Linked DNA regions of Homo sapiens: region 2 is linked to region 1. Evidence: promoter capture Hi-C in 16 types of primary human blood cells and fetal thymus (Javierre and others, 2016). All regions are on one chromosome and are shown on one strand. The core of a region is centred on a gene start or on the middle of the fragment in contact, and the rest is flanking DNA. Distances in the headings are between cores, read along the strand shown.

What was found. The method cuts DNA at HindIII sites, captures the fragments that hold promoters and counts their contacts. A CHiCAGO score of 5 or more calls a contact.
Region 2: the fragment with the promoter of CCDC6 here is called in contact with the fragment with the promoter of R3HCC1L in region 1 in 1 of 17 cell types (total CD8 T cells); the score reaches 5.2 in total CD8 T cells.

The regions. Positions count from the first base shown.
Region 1 is chr10:98,132,972-98,136,783 of GRCh38, forward strand. R3HCC1L (R3H domain and coiled-coil containing 1 like) reads left to right here and starts at 1,686. Exons shown (of 10, transcript NM_001351015.2): 1 at 1,686-1,735. RefSeq lists enhancers at 2,113-2,902, 2,245-2,384. The HindIII fragment of the contact is 1,235 bases long and covers 1,266-2,500 here.
Region 2 is chr10:59,904,893-59,908,704 of GRCh38, forward strand. It overlaps CCDC6 (coiled-coil domain containing 6), which reads right to left and starts at 1,664. Exons shown (of 9, transcript NM_005436.5): 1 at 1,230-1,664. The coding sequence starts at 1,532. RefSeq lists enhancers at 377-606, 3,299-3,812 and silencers at 1,127-1,406, 1,437-1,776, 1,959-2,253. The HindIII fragment of the contact is 3,234 bases long and covers 371-3,604 here.

The DNA.
Region 1 (3,812 bases), core at 436-2,935:
CTCTGAGTCCACCTCTGGGTGGGGCCACAGGAGCAGCTGAGTCATGAGTTAGGAGTCCTGAAGAAGGAACAGATTCAAGGAGTACTTGGGAGATAGTGAGAGAAGAAAGAGACCCTCTCATATTGTTTTATATTGTTTTATACTCAGTACCTGTTTTAAGAAAAAAAACAAGGAAGTGAAACCAAAGGCAGGCAGCCCAGCACCAGGCACCAGACCCAAAACCAGACCTGAAACCAGGCCTGGGCCTGCCTGGCCTAAACCTAGTAGTTAAAAATCAACTCATGACTTAGCATAGATTCCAGGCATTGTATGGAAGAACATTGTACTCTGTTCTGTTTCACTCTGACTACCACTGCATGAAGCCCCTGTCACATACACCCCAGATTGCTCAATCAATCACGACCCTTTCATGTGAAATCTTTAGTGTGGTGAGCCCTTAAAAGGGACAGAAATTGTGCACTCGGGGAGCTTGGATTTTAGGACAGTAGCTTGCCGATGCTCCCAGCTGAATAAAGCCCTTCGTTCTACAACTTGGTGTCTGAGAGGTTTTGTCTGCGGCTCGTCCTGCTACAATAGAATCTCCAAGATTTGGTGACCATTTGAATATTGGAGGAAGAGGAAGTGAGAAAGGAGGAATCAGGTTAAAGAGTGAATATTAATGAGTAGGGAGGAGGGGTAGTAGTTTACTTTTCTTTTTTTGGGGGACGGAGTCTCCCTGTGTTGCCCAGGCTGGAGTGCAGTGGTGCAATTTTGGCTTACTGCAACCTCCGCCTCCCGGGTTCAAGCGATTCTCCTTCAAGCAATTCTCCTGCCTCGGCCTCCTGGGTAGCTGGGATTACAGGTGCCCACCACCACGCACAGCTAATTTCTGTACTTTTAGTAGAGACAGGGTTTCACCATGTTGGTCAGGCTGGTCTCGAACTCCTGACCGCAGGTGATCCACCTGCCTTGGCCTCCCAAAGTGCTGGGATTACAGGCATGAGCCACTGTTCCTGGCCCCAGTAGTTCACTTTTCAAGGACACTGGAGATGCCTGTGGGCATGGATGAGGAGAGGTCTTGTCTAGGAAGTTGGGAATACAAACAATGAGCTCAGGTGAGAAGGGACTGGAGTGTCCCCTCTCCCACCCCAATTTTAAGAACTCTGGAAAACACCAATATTTTAGAGGTAAGTTAGAGGAAACAAAGTAGAATGAATTCAGAGAAGGAAAACCTGGATAGTGTCATAGAAAATAAGTGATAATGCCCAATAGCGTCAAATGACTAAAGCTTGAGTTAGATGAGTCCGGAAATACCTCCAATGAGTTTGGCAACAAGGACACTTATGACAACAAGGCATTTTCCATGGGGGCGGAAGCTGCGATGAGGAGTGAACACAGATGAGCAAGTAGAGACAGTGTAGATTATCTTTTTCAAAAAACTTGGCTGTGAACGGAGGAAGTGAGATGGTATAATTGAGTGGAATGTAAGGAGATTTGCGCACGTATATAGCCGAGAGGAATGAGGAAGGGTTGAAGGGACAGGAGCAGAAATGCTCTCCGGCACTCGCCATTTTGCCAGCTTCTCCCCTACGTGACCTGAACTCAGTGGGCGCGGCCGGGCCTCGCGGAAACTACAACCCCCAGAAGGCCCCACGGCGTTGGGGGCGGAGCCGAGGCCTGACGCGCGCCCCAGCGGCGCGAGCGGAAGAGATAGAGCTTCGCGGAGACGGCGGAAGCGGAGAGCAACAGCGCGCCGGTAACAACCAGCCCCGTATCCCCTCCCTCTGTACCTCAAGCTAGGATTTTTAATCCCCACTTCTCCCTTCACAGCCCGGGACAAGACTTCCATTCCGTCGTTTGTTGCTGGTATTTTTTTTCCTCATGTGACGCGAGGGGCCGCCCCCTGCCTGGGGCGGAGGTTACTGGGAAGCTCCCGCCTTCTGACCCCTGCGGGCCCGCGGTTGAGAGGGACCCTCCCGGGGCTCTTTTGCACTCACTGGGGCTCGTGCTCGCTTTGGGCGCTCGCCCCAAATGATCCTGGCGGAAAGGACGTGCTTTTTCTGGGTTTCAACAGGTATTGAGCGGGGTCCCTGGTTACCCCCTCGGGGCTGCGGGGCCGTGGGCCCCCAGGGCTGCCGGCGGTTTCCGGGCTTCGCTTCGAGCCTCGCCTTTGAGCCTCCTCCGCTGCCCGGGAGCCCCGGGCTACGGGCTGGGAGTGAGCAATCTATAAAGGAGCATGTACTTCCTGCTTTTTCTTGGCAGGCCTGCGAAAAACCCCAAGTCCGATCTTTAAAGTTTGTGAGTGCAGCCCCCTCTCAGTTGTGTACGGGAAGGAGCACAGGATTTGGAGTCTGATATCCTGGGGGAAGTCTCAGTCCGCCACTTGGCTGGACCTGTGATCTTTTGTACAGTAGTCTGTTTAGCGCAGCCTCGGTTTCGTTGTCTGAAAAGTGGGGTTAATGTTCTTTGCCCTGCGGCCTTCCAGGGTTGTGGGCTTCAGCAGAAGTGATATTCCTGCGAAAGCTTTGAACTCTAAAGTATGTTTCGGGTATAACCTTGCCATCCCCCAGTCTCCAGTCTAGGTCAGTTGAGTTTTAAAACCAGGTTCATGTCTATACGAAGATCAAATTAGTTAATAAATAGGGGGAAAGTGTCTTTGGAAACGAATCTGAACCATACAGATGTTTTTATGCCAGGTTCCTAGTGAAGAGGTGACCTTAGGGCGTTACCACCTGTGGAGTCAATTTAAAACTTCATCTGGATTTTAAGGCCCACCAGAATTTAGACTCTTCTTCCTCAGCACACACAACTATCTCTTGCTGTTATAACCTTCCTTCAGTATCACACAGGTACAAGCATAAAGCAGTAAACGTTCCTCAGATATGGTTGTACTACAACTAATACCTGTCCCCAGCAGGTCTTGTGTCTTGTGTCACAGTTGAAATTCAGAATATAAATAGCCAAATATCCCATCTGTTTAATTTTTTTTGACATTAAGCTTTGAGACTAAGCAAGTTGCTTATTGTCTTATTTTTCCCCTTACAGAGAATGCTAATTCTGCAATCAGTTTTTTTTTTTTTTTTGGGTAGAATCAGGATTTCACTATGTCGCCCAGATTGGTCTAACTCCTGGGCTCAAATGATCCTCCCGCCTCGACCTCCCAAAGTGTTGGTATTACAGGCGTTTGACACTGTGCCCACTGTGCCCGACCTCTGCGATTAATTTTTAAAGGGGTAAGAAAGTGTAGTTAGGTATTTTTAGTCTGTGTTTATTCTGAATTTATTGATTGAAGAATACTTGAAAATGGTCCAAAAAACAAGAGAGGATGACAGTAAGTTGCATTAGCTTAGTGTACAAATTCGAGCAAATTTGAGTTCAAGTCCTGGTGCTGTGTCTTACTACAGGTTGGAGTATCCTTATCTGAAATGCTTGGTACCAGAGTGTTTCAAATTTCAGATTTTGGTATATTTGCATATACATAGTTAGATATCTTTGGGATGGGACCCCAATCTAAACATGAAATTGATTTAGGTTTCATATATACCTTATATACATAGCCTAAAGGTAATTTTATATAGTATTTTTAATAATTTAATAATTTGTGTCCAGACGCGGTGCCTCACGCCTGTAATCCTAGCGCTTTGGGAGGCTGAGGCAGGCAGATTGCCTGAGCTCAGGAGTTCAAGACCAGCCTGGGCAACATAATGAAACCCCATCTCTATTAAAAGTACAAAAAATTAACCAGGTGTAGTGGTGCACGCCTGTAGTCCCAGCTACTCGGGAGGCTGAGGCGCGAGAATCGCTTGAGTCCTGGAGGTGGAAGTTGCAGTGAG
Region 2 (3,812 bases), core at 414-2,913, about 38 Mb before region 1:
CCTCCACCGAAGGCATTTCCTGGCACAAGGGGCATCCTAAACTTGCTCCATTTCCAAGGTGTGACCCTCTATCCCCAAATTCATCCCTTTTTCTTCATTTCAAAGTTCAGCCTAATCCGCTATTTTGCAGCAGCTATGGCCATTTATCCCCCTTGATTTCTTGACATCATCTTCTCTGCTTCTGGCTGGGGAACTTTTGATTTGAATACAGTTGTCTGTGTGGGGATCCTTCATGTTAATGATGTGGTGAGCTGGCAGGGATGATAGGTGAGAGTACACAGTGTACTTTTTCTAGTTACGTTTCGCCTCATCACTGCTATAGGGGCCTTTCTAAACGCCTGCCACACCAGGAGAGAGACCTACAGACCCAAGCTTACCCGTTTCTGGGCAGCCTCCAGGGGACAGGTAGAAACAGAACAGATGGCCTGTTCTCCAGTATCTAGACTCAGAAGCAAGATACTTCTAACCACTCCACGAATGAAGCAAACACACGTACCTCTGGCTCAGCCAGGGAGTCACAGTCACTACCCTTCCCCTGGTTTCGGCCCCAGCCCTGTCCAGGCGTGGATGCTGCACTCTCCTCGCTGTAAACCGTCCACCCTCCCAACCCAAAGCAAAGAGCTTCCAACAGAGGTGGGAGCATTAGCGCCGTACCCGCCCTTCCCTCTCGATCCCGGCCAGAAAACTCCACTTCCCGGATTCCCGGCCACTCTCTCCCGCCCCCTCCCCGGGCGATCCAGCTAGCGCAGTCCAGATGCCAGCTTAGTGCCCAGTCCAGCTGCGAACCCCCACACTCCGAGCCAGGACCCAGTAAGAGATCCCAGCTTCCTCCCTCTTCCAGGACTGGGGTTCCCCAGATTCTGGACGCACCCCTCAAACATGCTAGGGCTGAAAAAAGTCCTACCCCGCCCCCCAGCCACGCCGCCAGCCTCCAGCCCAGCCCCGGAGGGGCCTCCTCTCCAGAGGCTAAAAGGGACCATGAATGGTTGCCACAGTAGCCTTCCCCCGCACCGCGCAAGGGTCCTCAGACCCCCGAGGAGGACAGACCCGCGTGGCCCCGAAGGGATACCTCCCTCTCCTCCCGGAAGCCAGCAGGTCCCCGCAGGGAGTGTGCTCTCAGAGGGTCCCCGGGAATCTGGGGAAGACTTGGGGGGTGGCTGGATTCGGGTGCAGCCCCTCCCGGGGCGGGCGGAGGTCGGCGCTGCGGCGCGTCCCCGGGGGGCACTCACGATGGTCACGCTGGCTTTGCGCAGGTCGCGGTTCTCCTCCTGCAGTGCCTTGCACTTCAGTTTGTAGGTCTCCAGCTCTATCTTCAGCACCTTGTTCTCTTGCTGCAGCGAGGCCAGGCGGTTGGTGAGCTCCTCCAGGCGGAACGGCGAGATGACAATGCCCCCCGACTTCCCACCGCCGCCGCCTCCCCCGCCGCCACCGCCGCCGCCCGAGGTCGACGAGCAGGACGACTGCATGGCGGCCGAGCTGCTGCTGTTGCCCCCCGCCCCGTCCGTGTCGCTCTCGCTGGCGCTGTCCGCCATGGCCGCGGCGGGCTGGGGAAAGGAGGAGGAGCAGCAGGGAGGCGGCGGCGACGAAGGCCGGGCTGCGAATGAGTGGGCGCCGGGCGAGCACAGGGGAGCGCCGAGCTGAGCGCCTGGCACCAGGGCGCAGACTCGGAGCGGCGGCGAGAGAAAGAGAGGGCGCTTCCCGCTGCCAAGGGACCTCCTCTGCCAGAGAACAGAGACCCCGCCCGGGCTTGGGCAGTATTGCACTGGGGCTCGCTCCAGCCGGGCTGGGCGCGCTCCCTAGGCCGCCCAGCAAAGCTGGCTGAAAGCTCCGGGACCCGCCCGCCGCCGTCTGGTGACCACGGGCGGGCTGGGAACGCGCAGGCACTGCGGGTGCGGGAAAGCCAAGGACTGCCCCCGCACCACCAGCTCGCCAGCCACACGTGTTCCAAGGGAGGGCCTCCGAGCCCCCTGATCTAAGCCCACGGCCGCCCAGCCTCTTCCGGGCTCGCGCCCGCCCCGAGAAAAAGGAAACCTGATGCCCCACCAGCCTCGCAGGTGCCGGGGACACGTGGAAAGGTCAGCCGGGCTCCGGCACCCATCCTCTACCGTGTTGTGGCCCCATCTTCCGCCGACTGTGTGTGCGCGTGTCTCCCTCTATCTGTTTCACACATACACGCAGTTTTATATTCTCAAAAGCAAGGTGTTTTTGACTAGGAAGGCTTGGATAAACCTAAGAGAACAAAGTTCCTCTACAAGAGGCCGAGGAGGATGAAACAACAGCAGCCACAGGTTAACCTTGTTAAGTAAGAATTTGCAGGAGAGACACACATCTCCTTTAATAACCTCATAAACCACACTGCGCTCAATTGTTTAAACAAGGTGCAACTGTTTTTTTCTTTTTCTCTTTGCATTTTGCAAACATTTCCAGCACATGTCTCGTAGTAGGATTAAGACAGTAACATTTACCTAATGAAGAAAAAAAAAAAGGAAGGCGAAACACTTTTAGTAGAAGATTGAAACACCTCTTTAAGTGCCAATTTTCCAAAGTAACTGCGGACATAACATTATGCTATACAAATAGTAATGATTGAGTGGGAGTGCAACATCACCCGTCTTTGCTATCCTCTTGCTCACTCCTAGAAAACTTTAGCATGTAAAAATAAAACAGTAATTACTGTAATGCGGTCTAATTCATGGTTCTAGCTTTGCAGTTTAAGAAATTAAAAATCAAAAACTTTTATTCCCCCTTCCTCTTCCCAAAGAAAGGCTTGCAGGAAATTGGCCCAGCAGGTGAGATGATTCTAAACACTTTGCCCTGTTGACACAAAACAGCTTTCACTTATGTATAAAAATTGGAAAGTGAAACTGACCAGACTAGTTTTATTACCCACGCTTAGTTAACATTACAACAAACACATGGTAATAGAAAATAGAAAAAAAAGTGTAATTTTTTTTTCTGTTGGGTTGAACTTTCTGAAAGATTTCTAAAGTGTTAGGAAGAAAGAAGAATGATTCTTATTCCCACTCCCTCATTATCTTTAAACCTAAATTTGATCTCATGATTAAACGGTGATTCAATGGCTCTTGGAAACTGGCACCTCAGAATAAACTCGAAAACACCAAGTGTTCCAAATGACATCATCTTTCACCAAGATGGCTGCTTTTAGCAAACAGCTTAAATGCCAACAGCAACTAAACCCCAGTTTCTCCCAGGTATTTTTTAGCTTAGTGCTGGAGGGCTTCTGAACTCTGTCACTGTTTGTATAGCAGGAGGGAGGAAATGCTTGGCTTTGCTCTTGAGAAACATATAGGCAATCTAAATCATTCTGTTACAAGTGATCCAGTTTAATTTGCACTGAAACTTAGTTCTCTCACTTTTTTGGGATCTAGTACATGAGACAATGAGTTAAATTGGAAACGGATTCTGGAAAGCTCACTTGAGGGTTGAAATGGAAGAGTAAAGCTAGCAGGGAGAAGCACCACAGGGGGAAACAGATTTAACAACATTCTTTCCCCTTTATTCAGCACTGTGATCGAATCTTAAGAGTAGGTCTGGCTGCCATACCTCACAAGTTTCTATTGCTCCCTATTCCATATTATCTTAAAGCTTCCACTTTTAGAGCTTATTGCAACAGGAACATTCCTTCCAGGCAGAGCAGGGGGCAAATTAACTCTCTCTTAGCGTCACCACAAAACTAACCGCCTTGGAAAGGCGGACTCACACTGCTTCAAGTCAGCAGAGGGGTGGAGTTTGAAGCGCCTGGTTTTCTTAAAGGGCCCAAGTCATGGTTAAGCTTAAGAATGTAGTGGCCT